4 separate regions of the Homo sapiens genome follow, and regions 2, 3 and 4 are each linked to region 1. The links are contacts of gene promoters, found by promoter capture Hi-C in blood cells and fetal thymus (Javierre and others, 2016). All regions are on one chromosome and are shown on one strand. Each heading gives the region's core, a stretch centred on a gene start or on the middle of the fragment in contact. The rest is flanking DNA. Distances are from core to core; before and after follow the strand shown. Region 1 holds the start of NUDT16L1 (nudix hydrolase 16 like 1). Region 2 overlaps UBN1 (ubinuclein 1). Region 3 holds the start of GLYR1 (glyoxylate reductase 1 homolog). Region 4 overlaps GLYR1 (glyoxylate reductase 1 homolog).

The links. Contacts are between HindIII fragments. The CHiCAGO score rates a contact against its expected background, and 5 or more counts as called.
Region 2: a contact is called between a fragment that was not itself captured here and the fragment with the promoter of NUDT16L1 in region 1, in 3 of 17 cell types (erythroblasts, M2 macrophages and megakaryocytes). The highest score is 7.1, in erythroblasts.
Region 3: a contact is called between the fragment with the promoter of GLYR1 here and the fragment with the promoter of NUDT16L1 in region 1, in 2 of 17 cell types (M2 macrophages and erythroblasts). The highest score is 6.0, in M2 macrophages.
Region 4: a contact is called between a fragment that was not itself captured here and the fragment with the promoter of NUDT16L1 in region 1, in 1 of 17 cell types (M1 macrophages). The highest score is 5.1, in M1 macrophages.

Annotation. Positions count from the first base shown.
Region 1 is chr16:4,691,783-4,695,443 of GRCh38, reverse strand. NUDT16L1 (nudix hydrolase 16 like 1) reads right to left here and starts at 1,882. Exons shown (of 3, transcript NM_032349.4): 1 at 1,565-1,882; 2 at 1,206-1,466; 3 at 1-486. The coding sequence starts at 1,717. The coding sequence ends at 265. RefSeq lists enhancers at 1-352, 955-1,462, 1,463-1,970, 2,222-2,311 and silencers at 1,062-1,561, 1,672-2,031. The HindIII fragment of the contact is 13,448 bases long and covers 1-3,661 here.
Region 2 is chr16:4,864,068-4,867,728 of GRCh38, reverse strand. All of the region lies in intron 7 of UBN1 (ubinuclein 1), which reads right to left. Among named protein-coding and RNA genes, the nearest start is that of UBN1, 18 kb to the right of the region's middle. The HindIII fragment of the contact is 763 bases long and covers 1,612-2,374 here.
Region 3 is chr16:4,845,297-4,848,957 of GRCh38, reverse strand. It overlaps GLYR1 (glyoxylate reductase 1 homolog), which reads left to right and starts at 1,670. Exons shown (of 16, transcript NM_032569.4): 1 at 1,670-1,730; 2 at 2,748-2,784. The coding sequence starts at 1,693. UBN1 (ubinuclein 1) reads right to left here and starts at 1,477. Exons shown (of 18, transcript NM_001079514.3): 1 at 748-1,477. RefSeq lists silencers at 797-886, 897-1,616 and enhancers at 669-1,511, 1,807-1,866, 2,167-2,226. The HindIII fragment of the contact is 6,120 bases long and covers 1-2,627 here.
Region 4 is chr16:4,824,888-4,828,548 of GRCh38, reverse strand. The region is part of intron 5 of GLYR1 (glyoxylate reductase 1 homolog); the gene reads left to right. Among named protein-coding and RNA genes, the nearest start is that of GLYR1, 21 kb to the left of the region's middle. The HindIII fragment of the contact is 9,601 bases long and covers 1-3,661 here.

The sequences.
Region 1 (3,661 bases), core at 633-3,132:
GCCCAGAATAAACAAGAGCATCCTGAGGCTGGAGAGGCAGGCCCAGTGTGCCCGGACCACCCTGCTCTGCCTGAGAGGATGGGCTGGGTTCCAGCTGGCCCGGCCGCCACCTAGTGACTGCTTGGGACAGTGGAGATGATGACAGGATGCCCACTCGCCCTAGGCAGTCAGAAGCGGGGTACACACAAACACTCTAGAAGCCACACTTAGCAGGAATTCCCAGTCTTCCGGCCCAGGGGAGGGTGCCACCAGCTCAGGCAGCCCTCAAGAGGAGGCCGGGAGCAACTTCTCCAGGGCCTTCTTCTGCTTCTCGGTGGCTGCAGCCAGGGCCTCAACCAGCTTCTCCTCGGGCATCATGTTGAGCACCTTGAGGGCAAAGAGGAGCTGGCACTTAGCCGTGCTCACGAAGGCGTTGCTCAGGAAGTTGGGGAAGCCTCCGACTCGGTCCTTCTGGGTGTACAGCGGGACCCGCACGAGGCCCAGCACCTGCGCAGACAGGAGGTAGGGGTTGGGGCCAGGCCTGCCACACAATGGCACCTCCAGCAGGAGGGGCCTGGAAGCTATGAGGCCAGGGTATGAGCAGCCAGCTTTGCCAAGGACTTAATGGGAGACCCACGCAGGGCCTGGCAGAAGCCAGCCAGCTCCCTCGGAGCAGTGCAGCCCCCTCCTCCCCAAGCAAGTGTGGAGGCTGACCCCATGCACTCCCCCCCCTCGTACCCAGGCCACCCCACCCCGGGGTCCGCACCCCATGCTCCCCCCGTCCACCCAACGAAGCCTGAACACCCGCAGTCCAGCCCTTCCAGACCACAAAGTACAAATCCCAAGAGCCTTCACGCCCAACATGAGGTTCCCAAGTTTTACAACCCCCGCTGTGCTCAAGTTTCCCAACTCCCCAAGCAATCCCCGCTCCTCCCCCATCCCTTCCTCCCCACCGATCCCACTCCCCCACTCCCAGGATTGGCAATGGCAGGCAGCAAGGCGGATGTAACACAGCCCTGAGGGAGCCCCAGCGCCGGCCCCCACCCCCGCCCCTCCTTTCCCGGCCTCCCAGCCCCAGACCCCTCTCCCCACCCCATTGCTGGAGACAGCGACACCCGACCCAGCCCGGCCAGGGGACCCTCAGGAGACGTGTTACCCATCGGTGCCTTCCACGGGGCCAGAGCCAAACCCCGGGGCGGGGGGCGGGGCCCGGGCGGCGGCCCCACCTCCAGGCCGTGGTCGCGCGAGTGCACCGCGCTGATCTCCACGGCGTGCAGCTGCTCCAGCGTCAGCTGCCGCGCGTACAGGTGCGCCACGACGCGGTGTGGGCCCTCGGTCAGGTGCGAGCTCAGGTAGTCGGCCTCGGTGAGGCGCAGGCAGCCCAGGCCCAGGCCCAGCACCCGGTTCAGGCCGTCCTCCAGCGACCAGAAGCGCCGGTCCACGAAGCCCCCGGGGAAGCCCAGCAGCCCGTCGAAACGCATCTGCATCTGCAAGGGAGCGCGGGTCACAGCCGCGGGGTCGACGGACGCCCCCGCCCGGGCCCGCCCGCGCCGGCACCCTCGCCCGCGCCCTCGCCCGTCCTCACCAGCACCGAGAAGCGCATGGGGATGCGGCCGAAGAGCTGCCCAGGGTTGGCGGCGTACAGCATGGCGTGGCACGAGTGGCTCCAGCCCGGCCCTAGGCGCATCGCCTCCACCCGGCTGATCTGCTTCAGCTCCGGAACCGCCGCCGTCGACATCTTGGCACTGACCCCGTCCCCGCCGCTGCCACTTAAGAGCATGCGCGAGCCCGCCCCCGCCGTGCCTCGCCAATCCGCGGGCGGCCGCGCCCCCGGGTCCGGTTCCCCCGCCAATCGCCGGCGCGCCCCGGGACCGAGCCCCTCGCAGCGCCGCGGTGCGTCGTCGAGAGGTGCTGCGGGCGGTGTGCAAAGGAGGGCGGTGCGCGTCAGCCGTCACCCAATAGTCGCACACCCTGGGCGGCGGCCCCGCCTCCGACGGGAGAGCCTAGACGACTGGTCGGTGCCGTGGTGGCTCAAGGTTGACATTGTGGGCGACGAACATCTTCCTTGGCGCCCCAAAGCGGACAGCCGAAATTCCCTGCGGTTTCTCCACCCTCGATGGCGCCGATCCCCTTGCGCCCACCCGTTTCTCCCCAGGAGGCCGACCCGGCCCGCATGGCCCCGTCCATCCGCAATGGCACCCTTGGCACGACCACACGAGCCAGAGATGCCCCGGAGCCTTGCTCCGCCAGCGCCACCGGACCCAAGCCCGGAGGGAGATGGCCTTCGCCTGCCATGCACGACAGCTGTCCCGACCTAGCCACCCTGCTGGCAGGCTCGATCCAGGACAGCACGGGGAGCAGGGCTTGGCAGGGCTTGAGTGCCCCAGTCCCCGAGTCCACGCTGGGTCAGGGCGGACGACCGGGAGCTCTGGGGCTCTGTGGACCCAGCTTGCTGGGCAGAAAGTGACTTAAATTCCGGGGCTGGACCTTTCCAGCATCCTCCAAGCCGGGCACCCTGTGCCAGGTACTGTGGGGGGAAGAGGGGTTTCCCCAATTTACGATGAGGAACTTGGAGCTCAGAGAGGGACATAACTTGCCTAAGTACAACTGGCAGTTGATGACAGAGGCAGAATCCCGATTCCACAAGGGCCTGAGGTACTTACCACTTACCTTGTGTTTGTACTGGAGATGTCTCTGGGGCTCAGAAGCATCCGAAACAGCCCAAGGCAGAGCGAGGTGCCCTGAACTCCATGATGGCAAGGCTCACCTCACCAGCAGCAGGGCCCAGGGCCACTTTCCTCCCCACCAGGGGAATGGATTTGCTGAGCACATGAACCCCCCTGCCTGCACTCACAGCATGGGTGCCCAGGGCTGGGGCACAGCCTCGGGAGAGCCGTGCAGTGAGGCCGAGCTCGCTGGCACAGAGAAGGCTGCCTTCAGTGGAGGCAGGCAGGAGAAGAGAGAGGGAGAGGGTGGGCATTGGAAACTCACCTGTTAGGTCCGTGGTGGCCTCAGATGTGGAGAATAAGGACCCAGAGAGGGCACCTCTCTCTCCTCCTGTGGCCACCAGTGGGTCAGGGGTCACATGGGACAGCTGCAAGCAGCAGGGGAAGTCCAGATTCCAGAGTGAGCGACCATGTGAGAAGGCGAGAGGGCAGCGAGGGGAAGGGTCCTCTCACCCAAAGAGGGCCCCACCCCTAGGCAGCCAAGCCCAGCCAGCGCCCAGGGCCCGTGGGACGCAGGGGCAGAGGAGGAGAGGCTCCCCTTGCTGCAGCCCCTCCCCGAGACCAGACATCAATACAAGCGCTGGCTCTTCTGGGAGGTACAGAGGGGGAGCCCATCTGGCCCATGCAAGCACCCGTCTGACACCCTGGGCACCCCTCTACCCACACTGGGATGGGGCCAGACCCAGGCAGGTCAGAGCAGCTGCAGGGCCCATGGGTGGCAGCCTTCTCGGGGCAGGGACTGATGGGCTAGAACACGGGCTTTCCCTCCACCCTCACAGTCTTCAAAGAAGGGCCATGGTGGCAGCTTGACCTGCACGCAAAGGAGCTGGGGCCCTGAGTGGTAGGCAGTGGTGTGGTGGGTGCCCTGGGGCACTGGCCACTCCCTGGGCAGGGGAGCGGGGGCTGTGCAGAGGCCTGGGGCCGGGCTCCAGCCTGCGAGCCCACAACCATGGGCA
Region 2 (3,661 bases), core at 744-3,243, 170 kb before region 1:
TCCAACCACTCTAACTGCTCCATCTGCCTCCTCCACCAGCTCCTTTCCATAGGCGGACCCCAGGATTCTCACTAGAACCCACTTCTCCCAATAACTTCTTTCCCCCTCAGGGCTTCAAAATAACACAGACAATTGTACACTCAAATCTAAACTAAGCCCTAAATCCTCTCATCTAAGCTCTGGACCAGAATTTCCAGTTATCTCTGAGAAATTTCCCAATTACAGTCAACGCCTGGTATAGGCAGGGGATTGGTTACAGGACCCCCGTATATACCAAAATCCAACTGCACAGTCAGCCCTGAGGAACCTGCCTATACAAAAAGTTAGCCCTCTATACACAGATTTAGCATCCCTCAAATCAACCCACATTTGGTTAGAAAACATCTGCGTGTAAGTGGATCCACGCAGTTAAACCCTGTGTTGTTCAAGGGTCAACTGCACTTCTGTGGATGGATGACCCTCTGGTTTGCAAACTCAACTTACACCAGACCCACTGGCTTCTGCTCTTCCCCTGTGTTCCCCACTTCTAATAATTGCACTCCAACCTTAAGACCGCCACTCCCTTCTTCAGAACCCTTCAGCAGCTCTTTCCAAGCCTGGTATCAAACCCAAACTCCTTCACATGGCATTTGGGGTCCTCCACGATCTGGCCCAGCCATCCACCAACTCGCCCATCTTCAGCTCTGCTCCCTGCCTTCTCTTAGGGCATCTTCCCCAGGAGGCCGGCGAAGCCTGTTGCCTCCAGTCTGCTTCCTATATGCCCCCCAAGAGCCTCTCTTTAACCCCTTAAGTCCGGCTATCTGGCCGTCCACACATCACAAAGCTTACTTCATTCTGCTCTGTACTACAGTCCATTGTCTGCGTATCTATCGGGTCCATTTATGTAACGAGCTCATGAAAGACAAGAATGGAACCTTGGCCCGGCGCGGTGGCTCACACCTGTAATCCTAACACATTGGGAGGCCAAGGTGGGCGGAACACGCGAGCTCAGGAGTTTCAGACCAGCTTGGGCACATGATGAGACCCTGTCTCTACTAAAAATACAAAAAAAAGCTGGGCATGGTGGTGCATGCCTGTGGTCCCAACTACTCTGGAGGCTGAGGTGGCAGGATCACTTGAGCCCTGGGCGTGGAGGTTGCAGTAAGGCAAGATCGTGCCACTGCACTCCAGCCTGGGTGACAGAGCAAGACCCTGTCTTAAAAAATAATAATAAAATAAAATATAGAACTGAGTCTTATTCATCAGTATATTTCCCATGGCTGCCTGTCACATAATATTTACTAAATGTTGACTGAGTGAATGAATCAACAAATGAAGATACTACTGTAAAACGGCACGCCACAGGAAGAAAAGCTTAACACCAAACAACCAAAACTAAGTCAGAAGAAAATGCGCAAAACTCAAGCTTCTACAGATCCCTTGGCTAGGTGAAAGCCCAGAGGGGTGAAATCCACAGACGAATAATGGAAAAAAAGGGCATGACTTTTCACCCAGCCATGTGCCAATTTCTTACACTCTTGGAAACATTCAGAATTCTACCTTAGCACTTGGAAGGTACTAGAATTATATTAGTCTGGGAAAAAATAAAACTGAACTTTTTTTGCTTAAGCTTACACTGCTAGTTTTAAGATCGAGAAGCACCCTTACATTAATTCAAACTAATTAACATGTATTTCACATGCCACACTTTCAGACCCATCTACAGCTTAAACTTCCAATCAAATTTTATCTTATTATTTTTTATTTTTTTATTTTAGTTTAGTTTTTGAGACGGAGTCTTGTTCTGTTGCCCAGGCTGGAGTGCAATGGCGTGATCTCAGCTCACTGCAACCTCCACCTCCCGGGTTCAAGTGATTCTCCTGCCTCAGCCTCCTGAGTAGCTGGGATTACAGGCACCCACCCCCATGTTCGGCTAATTTTTTGTATTTTTAGTAGAGATGGGGTTTCACCATGTTGGCCAGGCTGGTCTCAAACATCTGACCCCAAGTGATCCGCCCGCCTCAGCCACCCAAAATGCTGGGATTACAGGCTGAGCCACCATGCCCAGCATCTTATTTTATTGAGATGGTCTCACTCTGTCACCCATTCTGGAGTGCAGTGACGTGATCGCAGCTCATACAGCCTTGACCTCCCAGGCTCAAATAATCCTCCCGCCTCAGCTTCCCAAGCAGCTGGGACTACAGCTGCACGCAACCACGCCTGACTAATTTTTAGATTTTTTTTTCTCACTCTGTTACCCAGGCTGGTCTGGAACTCCTGGGCTCAGGTGATCCTCCCACCTCGGCCTCCCAAAGTACTGCGATTACAGGCATGAGCCACCGCGCCCTGCCAAATTTTCTGTTTAGATAGCCACTTGTACAATATTTCAGAAGCTTTCTATGTAATCTTTACGCAATCTTTAAAAATATTTTAAATAATATTATGTAATTTTAGAAAGTACTTTTCTGTAAACCTTTTGAATTGCATAGACAATATCTCTGAGGGTCTGGCTTTATACTGAAGAGTCGACTGCGGCATTTTAAAGTAAATCTAATTAAAAGAGCAATTGGATATATATCTGATAGTCTTCCAAAAATAAATGGGGTCCCTCACCCCTAAAAAGAGACACTCTTACCCCAGAAGTTGTGTGAATTAATCAATCCTAAGTTAACTAGTAAATGAGGTTAAACATCCCAATCATGCTGATTTATAAGAGTTCCAACAGCCTTTTAATGAGCTGTTTTATTTATTCTAAGAAAAGTCACCTGTAGCCTTTTAGCACCCAGCTCAAAATCTTATATACTGTATCTGTTTTTGCTGAGTAGGAGAAAATCGGGCATGATTTTTTTTAAAAAGATCAAACAAGTTGTTTTCGTTTTTTTTCCCCCTACGTTATTCTCTTTGGATCCATCTCTCCCTGCACTTCTTGTGATGAGGGGTTCTAATTCTATAGAGGGCAGAGCAGAATGGGTGACATGGGGTCTCTTTGATTCCTGCTCTTAGTATTGTCTCTATGTTATGCTTGACTAAAGAGAACCAAAATAGATCTGGGTTATTTGTCCAGCCCAAGGCTGAGTAGCTGTCAAACTACCTCAAGACAATAACCCAAAGGAGCATCAAACCTGAGCTTTGTCAGCACCTGTACCTGCCAACAACCAAGACAAAAGACACCATCAATGCATATTAACAGAGGGCAGGGTAAGGCCATCAAATCACTGGATTCCCTGGGGCCTATACAAATGTACAATACAAATCAGTAACAAAAAACAGGCTGATGTGAGAATGTAGTGAACGTGGCAGAGGCATCACCAAGGTTCCCTCTCAGAGGACCTCTTTAACATACACAAGTTTTCAAAGACATTTTTTAAAGTTTTAAGTACCATATTTAGTTAGAAGATATATCTAATTTTGCTTCCCAGAGTTTTTTCCCCTAAGGGATCAATACACATGGGATAAGAATCTGCTATGTACTGTGGCAGAATACAAAACAGGAACACAGGCCAGGCGCAGTGGCTCACGCCTGTAATCCCAGCTACTCGGGAGGCTGAGGCACAAGAATCACTTGAACCCAGAAGGCGGAGGTGGATGTTGCAGTGAGCTGAGATTGCACCACTGCACTCCAGCCTGGGTGATGGAGTCAGACTCTGTCTCAAAAAAAAAAAAAAAAAAAAAAAGGCAACAA
Region 3 (3,661 bases), core at 421-2,920, 150 kb before region 1:
GGCTAATTTTGTATTTTTAGTAGAGTACTGGGTTTGACCGTGTTGGCCAGGCTGGTCTCGAACTCCTGATCTCAGGTGGTCCACCCGCCTCGGCATCCCAAAATGCTGGGATTACAGGCTTATACCACCCTGCCCGGCCAAGATTCATGTTTTTATTTAAGTTATTAAAATCTCATTCAATTCCTCACAAATTCAGAATTTTTAAACAGGAACTTATGTTAAATTTTTATCAAATTATTCCCTGGAATCTTAAATACGCTTTAAAGATCACTTTGTCTTAAAAATACACACGCAGTAAATGACAGTCCGTGCAGCTAATTCTTGGTACTTCAGGGAAACTGATCTCCCAAGAAAAATCAGGCTGCGGGACGACCCAGTACGCTAAACACCGACTTGCAACCGAAATCTCTAACCACCACAATGCCTTGGGGAAATGCGTGTCGACTCGCCACCTTTGCCAGCTGGCAGTGACTCAACAAGAGCCCGACACCAAGTCTAAGTCAATCCTTAACACTGTGGAGTCTGTGATCGGGACTGGGATCTTTTGCAAAATTGTGATTCTACCTGGTCTGCTGAAGTTTGGGCCGACGCTGCGCTCAACTGCAGTTAACACTTCCCAGTTCATGGTTCAGTTTTAAAGTGTCCAAACTACGCCCGGCATCTGTCTTCCTGTTGTCACAACTTTTTCAAAAGTGCAAAACTAGGGCAAGGCTAACGAGAGAGCCCGGACCCGACAACGACACGCACCTTTGTCCCCAGCGCCGACGCGGGCCGCAGACGTCCCCCCGCGGCGGTCCTCATGCCGGTCCCCGGGCGGCGGCGCAGCTAGCGGTCGGCTGCTAAGCCGTGGCTCCCAGCGGGCGGGCGGCCCGCGCCTCGGCCCATGGCCGGGTCCCCGAGCCCAGGGGAGCCTGGTGTGCCGCGCCGCGCGCCGGCCCAGGAGGAAGCGAAGAAATGCCAACTCGACGTCCGCGCAGCCACTCCGGGGACACCAGGGGGTCGGGGGAGCAGCCTCCGGTCGCCCCAGGAGAACTTGCGGCGCGGGACCCCGCGCTCAGACGGCGCCTCCGAAAGCGGCCGTCGGGAGGAGCGCTCCAAAGAACACGGGCGGCGGGAGCGGACGGGCGCGGACACCGGGGCCTCCCGGCCTGCGGCCAAGCAGAGTTGCCGGGCGCGGGAGCCCAGACCCGGCGGAGGCTGAGTTCCAGGCCGCGCCGAGCTCCGTCAGGGTAGCTCACTGGCGCTGCGACGGGGCCGACCAGCGCCTCGGGCTCGGGAATGGCCCCGGGGCCCGCGCCGGACCAACGGGCGTAACGGAAGCGCCGAGAGGGGAGGGGCGCGGAGTCCAAGACCCGGGGGCGGGGCGAGCCGCGAGGCCGGCTCCCTCTCGCGCTCAGCCGGTCGCACCGTCGCCGCCGCCGCCGCCTCAGACCGCGGGCGCTTCGTTGTCACGAGCCGAAGGGAGGGGGAAGGAGCCGGGAGTCTCTGCGCTCCGGCGCGCGGAGACCGCGGCGCTCGCGTCACGTGCCCCTCGGTCGACCAATGATCCCCGGCGGGCGCGGTGACGTCAGAGTAGCGGCGTGGCCAGTGACAGCCGGCCCCCGTCACGTGGTCGGGCCCACTCCAATGGGCGGCGCCGGGGCGACTTGCTGTTCCCGGCGGCCCGTGCGTCGGCGGTGGTTGGGTGGTAAGATGGCGGCTGTGAGTCTGCGGCTCGGCGACTTGGTGTGGTGAGTCCGAGCGGCCGGGCCAACCGAGACGCGCCGGGGAGCTACCCGCCTGGGCGCGGGGTTCGCTGCCGGCCCTGGAGCTGCCTTTTTATGCGCTCCAGGTCGCGGAGAGAGGGGAAGAGAAGGTGCCGGCGCTTGCGAGCGGCGCCAGGCGGAAGGGGCAGTCCAGTCCCGGGGGACCGAGGCCGAGGGTGGCCACGTCGGGCACCGGCTTTGATCCCCGAGGCCGGCCGGGTGGGGTCTGCACTCGGGGCCCAGATACTGGCGGCCCCCGTGAAGGGAGCCGCCGGTGCCGCGAGGCTTCCCCGGACGACCGGTCCCCGGGGTCTTGTTGGGGCTTCCCAGAAAGCAGAAGCGCCGGGGACCGGACCTGCGAGATCTGGCCGGTGCCATTCGGTCAAAGCCCAGGTTGCGATGCAGCCGACCTGTGCGGCCGGCTCAGCCGGGGTTGTCTAAACCGGACTGCTGGCGTTGCCCCGCGAAGAAACGGCGGGGGGACTTCTCCTTTACAACCGATGGCTTGGCAGTGACCAGTGCACGCTTGGGTGCCTCCCGCGGTCTGCTTCTGTGTCCCAGACAACCGCCCGAACCAAGACTTTGTCGCCGCCTCCCTCGAGCTGCGTAGCTTGTTTCTCCACCCAGAGGAAGGCTTCCATTAGCATTTGTCAAAGCCAGGCAGGTCTCCTGTTGAATTAAACCAGACTTAGGGAGGGAAAGTCTGTGTTTACAGAGGAAGCTGTCCTCCCACCCCCGTCATTAAGAAGCTCTAGACAAGTGACTTTTGACAGTTGTGTTGTTCTGTATTCCTTGTCAACAGAAGAATGGATATGCGTTGTGCACATAAGTATACAATTTTGCATTTTACTTCTGAGGGTGTTGGGCCCAGCTATGAAAGCTTTTGTTTCGGCATTTGAGGATGCCAGCAGAGATTTAGGAAAATAAATTGCGTATTGAGTGGGTTGAAGGAGATGGACTGGCTTTTGCAGGGCAAGTGTTGACTCTTTGTGTTTTCTCTAGGGGGAAACTCGGCCGATATCCTCCTTGGCCAGGAAAGGTGAGTGTCTTGCTACTAAAGGAAGAGATCTGAAGTTGGGTTTGAAGAGGTGGAGAATGTAAGATGCATTCCTCTCAGTTTCTAGTATTGAGTTAAATTGGGCTCATTCAGATGGCACTTAGAATTTTTTTTCCCCTAGTATCGGTTATTTTTTAAAAGGCAATGCAGTATACACCAGATCATTAAATCTTCTCTAAACCCTTATTTCTGGATTTAGAGGAGGTTTATGAAGTTTCTTTTTTAACCCCGGAAATAATTCTAGTCTGAATTTAGCTTTATGCTTAAATGTAACAAAAGGAGAAGAAAATATAAATTATCCAGGAAGAAAGTCTAAATGTAGGTTAGTGAAAAGCCAAAGTATTTTTGTCCCAACTAAGTTTAAATCTTCTTTCCATGTTACCATATGTGCTACTCCAGTGCCTCTTTGCAGAAGTTGGCATTCCAGATTTTGCATGAGGTGATCCATCATTGCTTTCCAAATGTTGTGTTTTTATATTCTTGCTTGGAGCCCGGGAGGTGTCTTTAGATGGTCTCTTTGCAATATGGTGTTTTCTGTGCCTCGGTTGTCCTTTGTTTTCACTATGTCCTGTGTCAACCCTTCCTGCACAGGAAGTATTTCAAAGAGTGTCGTCTGCATTTTTTCAGTAATAATGGGGTCACATTGGAGCAGGGGTGGGGTGGTGGGGGGCAGGGGATGCTGTTGATCTTAGTTTTAACTGCTTGTAAAACAGGGCCACTGCAGTAAAAGGGATATTGTGTCTACTGAGCACTGTGCTACATGTTAAATATTGGGAACTTCTAGAATATCTACACATTTCCATACACCTCAATAGAAAAATGGGAGATTTAGACAAGTACTAGGCCTTGGGTTCTGTTT
Region 4 (3,661 bases), core at 669-3,168, 130 kb before region 1:
GGTCTGAATTATTAATCTGGGGAGTAGTGTAGCATACGTTGGAGATACTGCAGGTTCGATTCCAGATCATTGCAGGTCACACAAACGTCTTGGTTTCCCATTGCATGTTAAAGTTAGGTTTATACTGTAGTCTATTAAGTGGTACAATAGCAATATGTCTTTTTAAAATGTACATACCTTTGCCGGGCGCGGTGGCTCACGCCTGTAATCCCAGCGCTTTGGGAGGCCGAGGCGGGCGGATCATGAGGTCAGGAGATGGAGACCATCCTGGCTAACACGGTGAAACCCCGTCTCTACTAAAAATACGAAAAATTAGCCGGGCATGGTGGTGGGCGCCTATAGTCCCAGCTACTCAGGAGGCTGAGGTAGGAGAATGGCGTGAACCCGGGAGGCGGAGCTTGAAGTGAGCCGAGATCACGCCACTGCACCCCAGCCTGGGTGACAGAGCGAGACTCCATCTCAAAAAAATATATATATATACATGCCTTAAGTTAAAAATACTTCATTGCTTAAAAAAAAAAATGCTGACAGAGACACAAAGTGAACACATGCTGTTGGGAAAATGTCCCCCATAGATTTGATTGATACTGGGTTGCCACAAACCTTCAATTCGTTTTTTGGTTTTTTGGTTTTTTGGTTTGTTTTTTTTGAGACGGAGTCTCGTGCTGTCGCCCAGGCTGCGGTGCAGTGGCGCAATCTCGGCTCACTGCAAGCTCCGCCTCCTGGGTTAATGCCATTCTCCTGCCTCAGCCTCTGGAGCAGCTGGGACTACAGGTGCCCGCCACCACGCCCGGCTAATTTTTTGTGTTTTTAGTAGAGACGGGGTTTCATCATGTTAGCCAGGATGGTGTCGATCTCCTGACCTCATGATCCACCTGCCTCGGCCTCCCAAAGTGCTGGGATGACAGGCGTGAGCCACCGTGCCTGGCCCGTTTTTTTTGTTTGTTTGTTTGTTTGTTTTTTTAAGTGCAACACCTACAAAGCACAATAAAACAACGCATAATAAAACGAGGTGTGTCTGTGGTCCAGGAGCTCTAGCTGCTATTGACCCTTCGAGGTGTCCTTCCTGCCTGTTCTTTGTGCTTCACCTGGCCCATAGTGAAAGGACGTATGAGCAGGAGAGGACAGAGCTGGCATGTGGTACAGGACAGATAGCCGTTTCAGTTCAGCACCTTCAGACAGGTAGGGAATCGGTGCCTGGGCTTTGGAATTTTGGTGTGTTTTAAATGCGATACATCCCGTAGTCTCAGAGGAGGGTGTTTGTGTGTGTGTTGCTATAGTAATTGTCATTTGGCTGGCGAGCTCCTCTCAGAAACACTGAGCAGTCACATAGGCTGATAACTGGGCAAAGCCCAGCTGAGTGCCATTCCGGGACATAATCTCCTGCCCCGTGAGGATTAATGGAAAAAGCTGACCTTGATGGCGGAGGCAGGCAGGGAAAGGCTGGGTTTGCGTCTGGACCTGCATGTAAGAGCTGCACCCCAGCAGCGCCCACCTACCCTCTTTCTGGGGATGAACTCTGGGCACAGCCCACCCAGATCAAAGTAGCGCTGTTAGTTCTGTGACTCTCCCAAAATCCCATACTCACACGAGGAGCAGAAGTTTAGGAGTTGGGGCCCTTCCTTAGTGCCAAACTGAGAGTTACAAGCTGCCTCCTCCTTGTTTCCATTGGGTCATTGTGGCCTTAGGTGAGTCCTAGGGCTGCACCACCCAAGACAGCTGTGCTGCCCCAGCCACAATTGGCCATTTAAATTGAAATTAAATGCACATTAAAATGCAGCTTCTCCATCACCCTATTGTGTGAGATGCTCCACAGTGACGCTTGACTGGCGCCTGCTCTATCACACAGTGCAGATGGAGTACACGCCCATCATTGCAGAATATTCTTTTGGGCAGCTCTGGGCTGGGCCTTTTCTTTTCCCCCAAAAACCTCTGCATTCAACAAATGTTTATTGAGTAATTCTCCTATAGGCCAAATGCCTGGAGAGAAAGCAGCATAAAAGTCAGACGAGGCTCCTTCAGTAAGAATTGAACCTGGACTGTATGGCAGCATGGGTTGTAGAGTAGGCCAGACTGGCAGAGTTCTTGCTTTTCTAGGATGTGCTTCTAATATGACAGACCCTGGAGCCAAATTCTGTCAGTCTGCTAGGCACAGTGGCTCACTCCCATAATCCCAGCACTTTGGAAGGCCGAGGTAGGAGGACCACTTGAGGCCAGAAGTTAGAGACCAGTCTGGCCAACATAGCAAGACCCTATAAAAACAAAAAATTAGAAATTACAGAAAACAAATAATTGCAAATAAATAATACATCTACAAAAAATAAAAATAAAAAATTAGCTGGGCGTAGTGGCACACACCTGTAGTCCCAGCTACCCAGGAGGCTGAGGTGGGAAGATCACTTGAGCTCAAGTGGTTGAGGCTGCAGTGAGCCATAATTGAGTCACTGCACTCCAGCCTGGGTGACAGCTAGACTATGCCTCCAAATAAATAAATAAGTTGTGTCTACCACACCAGTGACTGACTCGGTGACCTTAAGCAAGGTTACTTAAGCTCTGTGTGCCTTAGTTTTCTATTCTGTAAAAGAAGATTATAATAGGGCTGGGTGCAGTGGCTCACGCCTGTAATCCCAGCACTTTGGGAGGCCGAGGCGGGCGGATCACGAGGTCAGGAGATCGAGACCATCCTGGCTAACATGGTGAAACCCCGTCTCTACTAAAAATACAAAAAATTAGCTGGGCATGGTGGCCGCGCGCCTGTGGTCCCAGCTACTCAGGAGGCTGAGGCAGGAGAATCGCTGGAACCCAGGAGACAGAGGTTGCAGTGAGCCAAGATTGTGCCACTGCACTGCAGCCTGGGCTACAGAGCAAGACTCCGTCTCAAAAAAAAAAAAAGAAGATGATAATAATTCTGTTTCATGAAGGGGCAAGAATTACATGAGAATGTATGTATAAAATAGGACTTATTGTGATGTCTAGCACATAGTAAGCCCTATGAAGGCATTTGTTCTCATTATAATCCACATCAGCATCATGTTCTATGGGCAAACATAAAAAGAGGTCAGGTGAAGCCACTCTGATAAGGTGACATTTCAGCAGAGTCCCAAAGCGAGCCTGAGCCAAGGAGATAACTGTCAGAAGAACGTTCCAAGTAGCACAAGGGTGCCAGGGCAGGCACATGCTTGGTGTGTTTGGTGCGGGGGGGAAAGCCAGCAGGGTGCTAACGAGCTAGAGAGCAGTGACGGGGGAAGAAATAGGACTTGAGGTTGGAGATTGGCGTGGGATGGGTGGGAGACGGCAGAACTTGCAAGACCCTCCCTGTAGACCATGCTCATGAAGCCCGTAGCTTTACTATGTGAGACTGGAAGGCAGTTTAAGGCAAAGAAGCATCATAATCTGATTGGCCCTTTTGGTAGCTGACTCTGGCTGCTGTGTAGAGACTAGACTGTGAGTGGAAGCAGGGAGATTTATTTTTGCAATTGTCCAGGTGGCCTGAGCTTAGGTATTAGTAGCAGGGATGGTGAGAAGAAGGGGTTGGGCAGATCGCCAACTGTAAAGCCCCATTCATTGTCAGTGGATTAGAGAAGAGAGGGGTCAAGAAGGGCTCTAAAGATATCGGCCTAGTAGAATGGAGCAGGCGTTTTCTAAGACTGAGAAAACCTCA